Linked DNA regions of Homo sapiens: regions 1 and 3 are each linked to region 2. The links are contacts of gene promoters, found by promoter capture Hi-C in human tissues and cell types (Jung and others, 2019). All regions are on one chromosome and are shown on one strand. Each heading gives the region's core, a stretch centred on a gene start or on the middle of the fragment in contact. The rest is flanking DNA. Distances are from core to core; before and after follow the strand shown. Region 1 has its middle 4.7 kb from the start of MIR4520-1. Region 2 holds the start of SLC13A5 (solute carrier family 13 member 5). Region 3 holds the start of FBXO39 (F-box protein 39).

The links. Contacts are between HindIII fragments. The study calls those that stand out against the background at their distance.
Region 1: a fragment that was not itself captured here is called in contact with the fragment with the promoter of SLC13A5 in region 2 in 6 of the 25 tissues and cell types used here (liver, mesendoderm cells, ovary and 3 more).
Region 3: a contact is called between the fragment with the promoter of FBXO39 here and the fragment with the promoter of SLC13A5 in region 2, in 2 of the 25 tissues and cell types used here (mesendoderm cells and thymus).

Annotation. Positions count from the first base shown.
Region 1 is chr17:6,658,609-6,661,740 of GRCh38, reverse strand. It overlaps the pseudogene ALOX15P1. Among named protein-coding and RNA genes, the nearest start is that of MIR4520-1, 4.7 kb to the right of the region's middle. The HindIII fragment of the contact is 8,121 bases long and covers 1-3,132 here.
Region 2 is chr17:6,711,930-6,715,032 of GRCh38, reverse strand. It overlaps SLC13A5 (solute carrier family 13 member 5), which reads left to right and starts at 1,664. Exons shown (of 12, transcript NM_177550.5): 1 at 1,664-1,801. The coding sequence starts at 1,700. The HindIII fragment of the contact is 16,548 bases long and covers 1-3,103 here.
Region 3 is chr17:6,774,430-6,777,569 of GRCh38, reverse strand. It overlaps FBXO39 (F-box protein 39), which reads right to left and starts at 1,355. Exons shown (of 4, transcript NM_153230.3): 1 at 1,298-1,355. It overlaps XAF1 (XIAP associated factor 1), which reads right to left. Exons shown (of 7, transcript NM_017523.5): 7 at 1,923-3,140. It overlaps LOC124903905 (a long non-coding RNA gene), which reads left to right and starts at 1,460. Exons shown (of 3, transcript XR_007065594.1): 1 at 1,460-1,550. The HindIII fragment of the contact is 13,622 bases long and covers 1-3,140 here.

The sequences.
Region 1 (3,132 bases), core at 590-3,089, 53 kb after region 2:
GCTGGAGTGAAGTAAGGAACTGGATTTACCCTCTTGCCTGAAATAACTGAAGAAACAGACACAAGTGGGCCCCACAATTGCCCCAGCTTACTGCCTGGAGAAAGCTTTCCAGCTGCAGAGTAGGGAGGAGCAACCCTGGCAGAGTCCTATCATCTTCCTGAGTTAAGGGGACAGAGAGAGCTGGCAGTACTGGGAGGCCAATACAGCCAGAATTCACAGGGCAGCATGCTGAAATTGAGGGTGTTGTACAGAAAGAGAACTCTAGAGAAACAAAGGTCCCCATCAAGTATTCAGCTGAATACAGGAGAGAAGGGGATAAGGTGTTACCTTGAAGATAGGATGTATCGACGGCAGGCACCTCATGGTGGCCACAACAATGACCTGAGCCATCAAGTGTCCCCTCAGAAGATGAGACTGCAGCTCACGGAGCTGGAAGTCAGAGCTGCGCACCCAGCATTGGGCCAGAAGCCAGACCACTGGGGGATCCGTGGGCAGGAAAAGGGGAGGTGGTGGGGATCCTGTGCTGGGCAGCTGGAGCTGGAGCAGGGACAAGTGTGGGGAGAGAAGGCATGAGTGCCCGGCACTCAGCGATTCCCGCCCCCCTTGCATGTTAACCTCGTCCTCCAAACCTGTTCTGCTTTCCCCATCCCACTCCTGCCTCTCCCTACAGCTCCCATTTCCTCCCCTCCCCTTCCTACCAGCTCAGTGCATTAGCACCCTGCAAGCTGCTTTGCCTCCAGCATTCTGCAGAAACTGCTCTTCTGGTGCCTCCTCCAGCCTCCACTTCCCCTTTCAGTCCCCGCATTGTGGACAAGATTCAAACCACCTGCTTCCTCCATCCCACACTGTTTTTCGAAATCTCATCTTTTGGCCCCACCTCTACACAAATGACTGAATCTCTTGTTCTCAGCTGCCTGCTGGACAATTTAAATGTCTTCCCGTTACCTCAACATTGGCCAGACAAAAGTCTACCTGGGCACCCTGTTCTCTTTATTGGTGCTATTTCTGCAGGCACCTGGCCTGGCTCCCCTTTCCCCTCTCCTTCATCTCCCTCTGCACTCGCATCCACCGGTCCTCTCCATCCCGACGGTCACTACCCATATCCGAGCTCCCCTCCTCCTGGGGTCAGTGCTGGGGCATGTTGCCCCAGTCCCTGTTTCTAGCATCTCCCCTCTCCAACCCACCCTAAACACCACTGCCCACACCGCGTGCCTATAGCATGTTTCATCACAGCCTTCTCCAGCTTCCCACTTCATGCTCCTTAGCCTGGCTTAGTCTGGCCCCAGTCCAACTGTCCCCTAGGAATCTCCTGACTCCTCTACCTTAGCCTCTGCCCAGTCTGTCTTGCCCCTGAGGACTGGTCCTTCCTCTCCCTCCTGCTTGTCTGAGACCTGGCCCTCCTCCAAGGCTGGTGACATCCCAACTCCCCGATCCCTCCTGGGCTGTCTCTGTCCTCCGGGACTTCCTCAGTCCCGGAGCTTCTGCAGACTAGCCCTATGTGTCTCTCCAGCTACATTGCAAGGCCTTCGAATAGAGACTTGGCGCATTTCCTCCTTTCGCGTCTCCCTGGTGCCTTAGCCCAGCGCCTTTGAAGATGGTGCTTAGTGCATTTCGATAAGGGGCTGAGCTGAGAAGGCTGGAGACTGGGAGCAGAAATCCTGAGTCCTCTCACCTGGATGACCATGGGCAAGAGTTTCCCATCAGGCTGCAGTTTCAGCATGACCAGAGGGGCAGCCAGGTGCTGCTGGCTACAGAGACTGACGTTGGCCTTGATCCCATCCAGCAGGGAGAAGTCAGCTTCGAACAATGTGCCTCCCTGGGTGCAGGAAGAGGTCAAAGGCTGCTATCAACATAAAGCATCTTCTTCCCACTCGGATTCCTCCAAGGGGGAAGAGAGAGAGAGAGAGGAGAGAGAGAGAGAGAGAGAGAGAGAGAGAGAGAGAGAAGCTAACTTGTCTCCATCACCTACTTTGTACCAGGTAATGGATCATGTGCTTATTGCCTCATATCATTGTTTATTTTTTGAGCCAGGGTATTACTCTGTTGCCCAGGCTGGAGTGCCATGGCGGGACCACCATGGCTCACTGCAGCCTTGACTTCCTTGGGCCCAGGTGATCCTCCCACCTCAGCCTCCCAAATAGCTGGGACTACAGGTGCATGCCACTACACCAAAAGTTACAGGTGCTAATTTTTGTATTTTTGTAGAGGCAGGGTTTCACCACGTTGCCTAGGCTGGTCTCCAACTATTGGGCTCAGGTGATCCTCCTGCCTCGACCTCCCAAAGTGCTGGAATTACAGGTGCAAGCCACTGTGCCCAGCCTTATAATTTTTATACCTAGTTGAACGAGCCTCAGTTGCACAGAAGAGGAAACAGATAATCAGAGAGGCTGGGTATTTTGCCTGAGGTCACACAGCTTACAAATAGCAGAACCAGGATTCACATCCAAGCCTATCTGCCCTTAATCCCATGAATTTCCTCTCTGTTGTTCCATATCGCCTCCTGATGAACAGCCACAGCACTCTGATCCTGACTCTCTTACTCTGCACACTCCCCGAATCCCTAGCACCAGGGGCCAGTCACATTTCTTCATTTGACCCTGTTTCTATCAACCATTCCATCTTGCACGCCCTCCCTCCACAGCTACTCTCGTGTGGGAAGGAGGCCGAGCAGCTGAGCTTCTCCAGGGTCCCTCAGGACCTCTCCTGCAGAATCCGTCCTTGCTGGCTGGCAGCAAGCCAGGCCCACAGTGGGTCCCGCAGCAGCATCATTGGCACTAGGCCACCCCACTTCACTGCTGAGCTTCCTCAGGGCTCTGATGTCCATACCTCCAGCTCCTTCTCCAGCTGGGCCTGCAGTTCCTCCATGCCTGGAGGGAACACTAGGCGAGCAGGAAGGTGAGCAGAGCGCCTCAGCACCACGGGGTTGGCGCCATTAAGAAACTGGTACCCAAATAAGGCATCTTCCTTCCAGGAGTCCCGCACGCGCTCTGGGGAAGGCAGTTGTTGAGCAAGTTGTGGGATCTGAGCTCTTGGTCCTTCCAACCCCACCAACCATGCCCCCTTGACTCCAGCCCACCAGAGGGACCCAAGTCTCTGGTCTCCCCACCCTGCTTCTTTCAATTCCCCTGGGTT
Region 2 (3,103 bases), core at 415-2,914:
CTTGGGAGGCTGAAGCAGGAGATTTGCTTGAACCTAGGTGGCAGAGGTTGCAGTGAGCCGAGATCGTGCCACTGCACTCCAGCCTGGGTGACAGGAGCACAACTCTGTCTCAAACAAACAAACAAAAAACAAAAACAAGAGAAATGATAAATATTCGAGTGATAAATATGCTCATTAGCCTGATTTGAACACACCACAATTATACACACATTGAAAAATCACATGGTACCCCGTAAATATAGACAATGATTTGTCAATTAAAAATGAAATAACACTTAAAAAATAAAAAAGTAAAAAGTAAAAATTACACCAATAAATATAAGAGGTACAAATTGTGCTAAGTGCCCTGGGGACACAGGAAAGGCGGGAAAACCCAGGGCTATATGCATGAGAGTTACAAAGGGAAAAGGACAGGAGGGAGGCAATTGCAGGAGGGGCTTGGGAGAATGCATGTCCTTGGGTGCAGGTCACAGGAAGGAACTCATGAGCTTGATTCAGGATGTGTTGAATTTTCGGGCCGAGACACGTCCAGTCTGCGGAAGGCTGGACATCTGGGACTCTGGCATCATGGCTGGGTTGAAGGCAGAGGATGGTAATCACTAAGGAGCCGGCTGTGGTTAGGCCACCAGCATGGATGAGACTCCCCAAAAGGAAGCTGCAGAATGAGAGGCAGGCAGAGGAGAGGAAAGAAGAAAATCACAGAGGTGGGGATGTCTTTGCATCCGTGTGTCTCCAGTGCCCAAAACAGGGCCTCGCGGAGAAGAGGTGCTCGGCACCTGTCTGTTGCCTGGCGGGCTGAATGAATACATGGGCGACTGTCTCAGTGTCGCCTTAGTTGTGTCCCTTCCTCTCTAGAGCTCCGTTTCCCTCTGACCTGGGTCGGGCGGGCAGCTGCGGCTGCTGAGGCTCGGTGGGGCCCCTCCAAGACGCGTGTCCGCATCTGCCCGCCGGGCGTCTGCGGGGTGCAGCGTCCACTGGAGCGCGACAGCCCCTGGGACAGAGGAGGACAGTGGCCTCGCTTCCCTGTGCGATCGCCCAGGAGCTCCGGGCCGGAGAGTGCGAGCGGGGAAAAGGGGTCCTGCACCTAGAGTGGGGCGGACGTGGCGAGGAAGCCAGGGGGGACCGGGAAGCGAGGCCCGCGGTGCGGAGGGCGCGGGGCGTGGGGGGACACCTCTCGGAGAGACACCGGAGGGGCGGAAGTAAGGAGATGGAAAGGAGAGGGAGATCGGGGAGATAGACCTGAGAGACCCAGAGGCCTGCAGAGAGTTTCATCCGGGACCCTTCAGAGCCCAGGAAAGAGCAGATGCGGACGCGGGAGGGCGCCTTACGCCAAAGCGGGCAGCACCAGTGACCAAAACACGCCCCGCTTGGCAGCCCCGGGACGCACCTCTGCCTCGGCAGCGCAGGAGAGGCTTGGACAGCGCGAGATGCTAGGGCCCAGGCTGCCCCTAGAGGGCTGGCCCGAAGCGTTGGAGTCCAAAGACGCCTCCCACCGCCGCCGGGTGGCAGAATTGGGGGCAGGCGCGTCCCACAGACCCCGAGGGGTGGCCCCGCCCCAGGGCCGCGGGGAGGCGCCCCCGTGCGGGGCGGAGTTGTCACCGCCCCCTCCCCAATCCCCGGGGACTGTGGCCCCTTCTTAAGCCCGCGGCGCCTCTAGCTGCCCCTCACTCGTCTCGCCCGCCAGTCTCCCTCCCGCGCGATGGCCTCGGCGCTGAGCTATGTCTCCAAGTTCAAGTCCTTCGTGATCTTGTTCGTCACCCCGCTCCTGCTGCTGCCACTCGTCATTCTGATGCCCGCCAAGGTCAGTTGCATCTCCAGGCAGCCCTTCGGACACCCGGCGTCCTGTGCCCACTAACGGGCACCGATCCCGGGAGCCCTGAGCTGGAGCGCACGGATTTCGCGGGGAGCACAGCTCTCCCGGGGCGCGCGCACTCAGGAGCTCCAGGTGCCGGATGGGAGGTGCCCTGTAAAGAATCTGAGGGGCATGGCGACCCCAGGGCGCACCACCCTTGGGGTTTACAGATCCCAGGGCGCAAGAGCCGTCCAGGCAAGCACGGAAACCTCGAAGTGAGCACAGATCTCAGCCACACAGATCCCAGCCTTAGGCTCAGCCCCTGGCTCCGAATCGAATCTCCCACAGTGCATAACCCTGTTTCCCCCCAAAATGCCACCTGCGCCAACAGGGAACCTGGGAGCTTGCCTTTCCCTCTCTCTCTCCTGTCTTTTCCCTTCGCCAAAGAAGACTTCAAGCTGTAGGTGGCTTCTGCCGTCAGGAGGGACCTACAGGAAAAAAATCATCACCCACGTGGATCCTGCGCTGTCTTTGCCACTCTCTGGCCCTTCCTTGGGCCTTAGTGTCTCTATCTATGATCCACATTCCTTCCAACCTGGAGAGCCACATCTGATTCATAATCCTGCTCCAGGCTGCAGGCAGGTTGGGGTTGGCCTGCTTTGCCTCCTGCCTGCTGGGGCTGTAGCAGGAGGCGGGACACATTCCCAGAGCTCGCGCCTTGGGTGGCAGGACCTGGAGTTGCAGGGAAGCTTCCTCCCAGGCCCTAGTCTCCTAATGCTTCTGTGAGGGAGAGAGAGAATGAATGGCCTTGGCCGCAGGGTGGGCGCAGGCTCCACTGGGCTGTGCACAGCCAGTTTGGCGGAGGCCCAAGCCCTTTGAAGCCTTTTGTGGCTGCTGGCTGCTCCTTCCTCGTTCCTTCTTTCAGCCCTTTCACTCTCAGCCCAGACAGGAAACCTCCAGCTCCCCACCTCCCCTCCCCAGGCAGGTTTGGGAAACAGAGGAGCTCTTCAGGGGATGCTCTGGGGGGGAGCTCTAGAGGAAGGGAGTGCACTGGGGTGTCAGGAAGCCAACCTGCAAGAGAACTGGACTTCCACCATTCTGTCATCTGTGTGACTTTAGCCAAGTGCCTGTGCTCTCTGGGCCTTGGTGTTCTCATCTGTACAATGGGGCTAGGTGGTTTGGTTCTGACACTTTAAGGCTTTGGGAATCAAAAGGGATTAACGTTAGTTCCTAGGATGGGGGAGGGGGAGACTGGGAGGAGCCCTTGGGTGGGCCTAGCACAGGCCCTGGATGGGTCAAGGACAGCAGATC
Region 3 (3,140 bases), core at 106-2,605, 63 kb before region 2:
GATAAACCAGTTTAAAAGCTCCACGAAGCAAAGACTTGGAATCAACCCAAATGCCCATCAATGATCGACAGGATTAAGAAAATGTGGCACATATACACCATGAAATACTATGCAGCCATAAAAAAGAATGAGTTCATGTCCTTTGCAGGGACATGGATGAAGCTGGAAACCATCATTCTCAGCAAACTAACGCAGGAACAGGAAATCAAACACTGCATGTTCTCACTCATAAGTGGGAGTTGAACAATGAGAACACATGGACACAGGGAGAGGAACATCACACAATGGGGCCTGTCGGGGGGTGGCGGGCAAGGGGAGGGAGAGCATTAGGACAAATACCTAATGCATGCGGGGCTTAAATTCTAGATGACAGGTTGATGGGTGCAGCAAACCACCATGGCACATGTATACCTATGTAACAAACCTGCATGTTCTGCACATGTATCCCAGAACTTAAAGTATAATAAAATAAATAAGTAAATAAAAGCTCCATGAAACCTTTTGGCCTAGCAAGGTTGTAGGTCAGGAAAAGTCATCAGACACTGGTGCTGTAAGGGTGGGGTTGGAAGAATATGTGTGTCTGGAAGAGTTGCTGTAAGGAGACTCCAAATTCTATTTAATGACTGGGAGCCTCCCCTTACCCCCCGAGACCCCATCAGAGGCAGTGTAGCTTAGTGGGCTGCATCCTAGCTATGCCCATTACAGTCGGATGACCTTAGGCAAGTCAATTTCTTTATGTGTGAATCCTCACATCTGTATATGGGGTAATAATAGTGCCTTTCTCTTAGTGTTGGGAGGATTAAGTGAGCTGATACCTGGAAAGCACCGGGAACAGTGAGTGCCTGCCACGTAGTAAACGCTATACAAGAGCTGGCTGCCATTAATAAGAAAGTTGGTGCCGAGGTACTTCTGCAACGTCCCGCCAAGGAAGATAGGAATACAAACACATCCATTTCACAAATACGGAAACGGAGGTGTTGGAAGGTGAATAAAGTTTCCCAGGGAGAACGTGTAGTAAGTGGGGAGATAGGATTCGAACCCAGGGTTGGTCCACCATATCACACAGCTGCCAACCAGGGAGGGAAATCTAAAGATGTCCTACCCACCGCGGGAGGGGGAGTTGGCCTGGCAACTCCTGCAGCCAAAGATGCTTCCCAGAGGGGGTGATGAGAGCAGCCCGCCTCCCCGCCGCGGGCCTCGGGGCATCCCACCGCCACCCCAGCCTGCTCCGGCCCGCATTCTCCCGTTACCCGTTCGCTGAACCCCGCTCGGGCTGCAGGGACTGGAGCGCGCCTACCTGCTCCGCCCGCGCAGCTGTTGCTCCGACGCCAACTCCATGGGCGCCCCGGGTCTGCGCCTTGCTCTGGCCCAAGCTAAATGCCAAGCTCCGGCCGCCTTTGTGACGCGCTGCCGCCTGCAAGGCTCTGTTCCTGCCCCCGGGTCGCAGAGCCCCAAACCTGCAGTTGCCTGGTCAGTGGATCCCATGTGCAGAGGGCGAGACGGGGCCCTGGCCAGGCGTTGGGAGGCGGGAGGCTCGGCCGGCGCTCCGGGTGAGGATGGCACGCCCCCGCCCTTGCTTCTGCGCACAGGGAAGACATTCGGCCCCGAACTTGGGGCTCAAAACGGTTCAGTTCGCTGCCTTTCCCATCCTGACCCAGCCCCGGGTTTTTTCCGAAGCCGCCGCTGGATAGGTTGCATTACTAGGCTTCCCCCAGCCACTCTCCCTGCCCAAAGCCTTCAGAAGCCGCCCCTCTCCCCTTCACCTGGCCCTTATCCACTGTCCCAGCCTCATTTCTTTCCCCCTCCCTGAATGTCTTCTGCTCCCCTTTCCTTGGGCACTGCCCTTATCCTGGGGTCCTGGCTGCTGCCATTCCTGGCCCTGGAAAACCAGTGCGGAACCCAAAGAAAGGTGGAAGAGCAGCTTTTAGAGAGGTGTTTTTATTCTTTGGGGACAAAGCCGGGTTCTGTGGGTGTAGGATTCTCCAGGTTCTCCAGGCTGTAGGGCCCAGAGGCTTAATCAGAATTTTCAGACAAAACTGGAACCTTTCTTTTTTCCCGTTGGTTTATTTGTAGTCCTTGGGCAAACCAATGTCTTTGTTCGAAAGAGGGAAAATAATCCAAACGTTTTTCTTTTAACTTTTTTTTTAGGTTCAGGGGCACATGTGTAGGCTTGCTATATAGGTAAATTGCATGTCACCAGGGTTTGTTGTACAGATTATTTCATCATCCAGATAAAAAGCATAGTACCAGATAGGTAGTTTTTTGATCCTCACCCTCCTTCCATGCTCCGACCTCAGGTAGGCCCCAGTGTCTGCGGTTCCCTTCTTTGTATCCATGTGTACTCAATGTTTAGCTTCTACTTATAAGTGAGAACATGTGGTATTTGGTTTTCTGTTTCTGAGTGAGTTCATTTAGGATAATGGCTTCCAGCTCCATCCACGTTGCTGCACAGGACATGATCCCATTCTTTTTTATGGCTGCATAGTATTCCATGGTGTATATGTGCCACATTTTCTTTTTTTTTTTTTTAAGGCAGAGTCTCGCTTGGTTGCCCAGGCTGGAGTGCAGTGGCAGGATCTCGGCTCACTGCAACCACCACCTTCCAGGTTCAAGCGATTCTCACGCCTAGGCCTCCCAAGTAGCTGGGATGACAGGTGCTCGCCACCACGCCTGGCTAATTTTCGTATTTTTAGCGGAGACGGAGTTTCTCCATGTTGGCCAGGCTGGTCTCAAACTCCTGACCTCAGGTGAACCACCCGCCTCAGCCTCCCAAAGTGCTGGGATTACAGACATGAGCCACCACTCCCTGCCACCACATTTTCTTTATCCTTTCTACCACTGATGGACATTTAGTTTGATTCCCTGACTTTGCGATTGTGTATAGTGCTGCCGTGAACATTTGTGTATATATGTCTTTATGACAGAATGATTTAGATTCCTTTGGGTATATAACCAATAATGGGATTGCTGAGTCAAATGGTAATTCTGTTTAATCATGTCCCATTTGTCAATTTTTGCTTTCGTTACAATTATTTTTGGGATCTTTGTCATGAAATCTTTTTCCGTTCCTATGTCCAGAATGGTATTGCCTAGGTTATCTTCCAGAGTTTTTATAGTTTGGGGTTTTACATTTAAGTCTT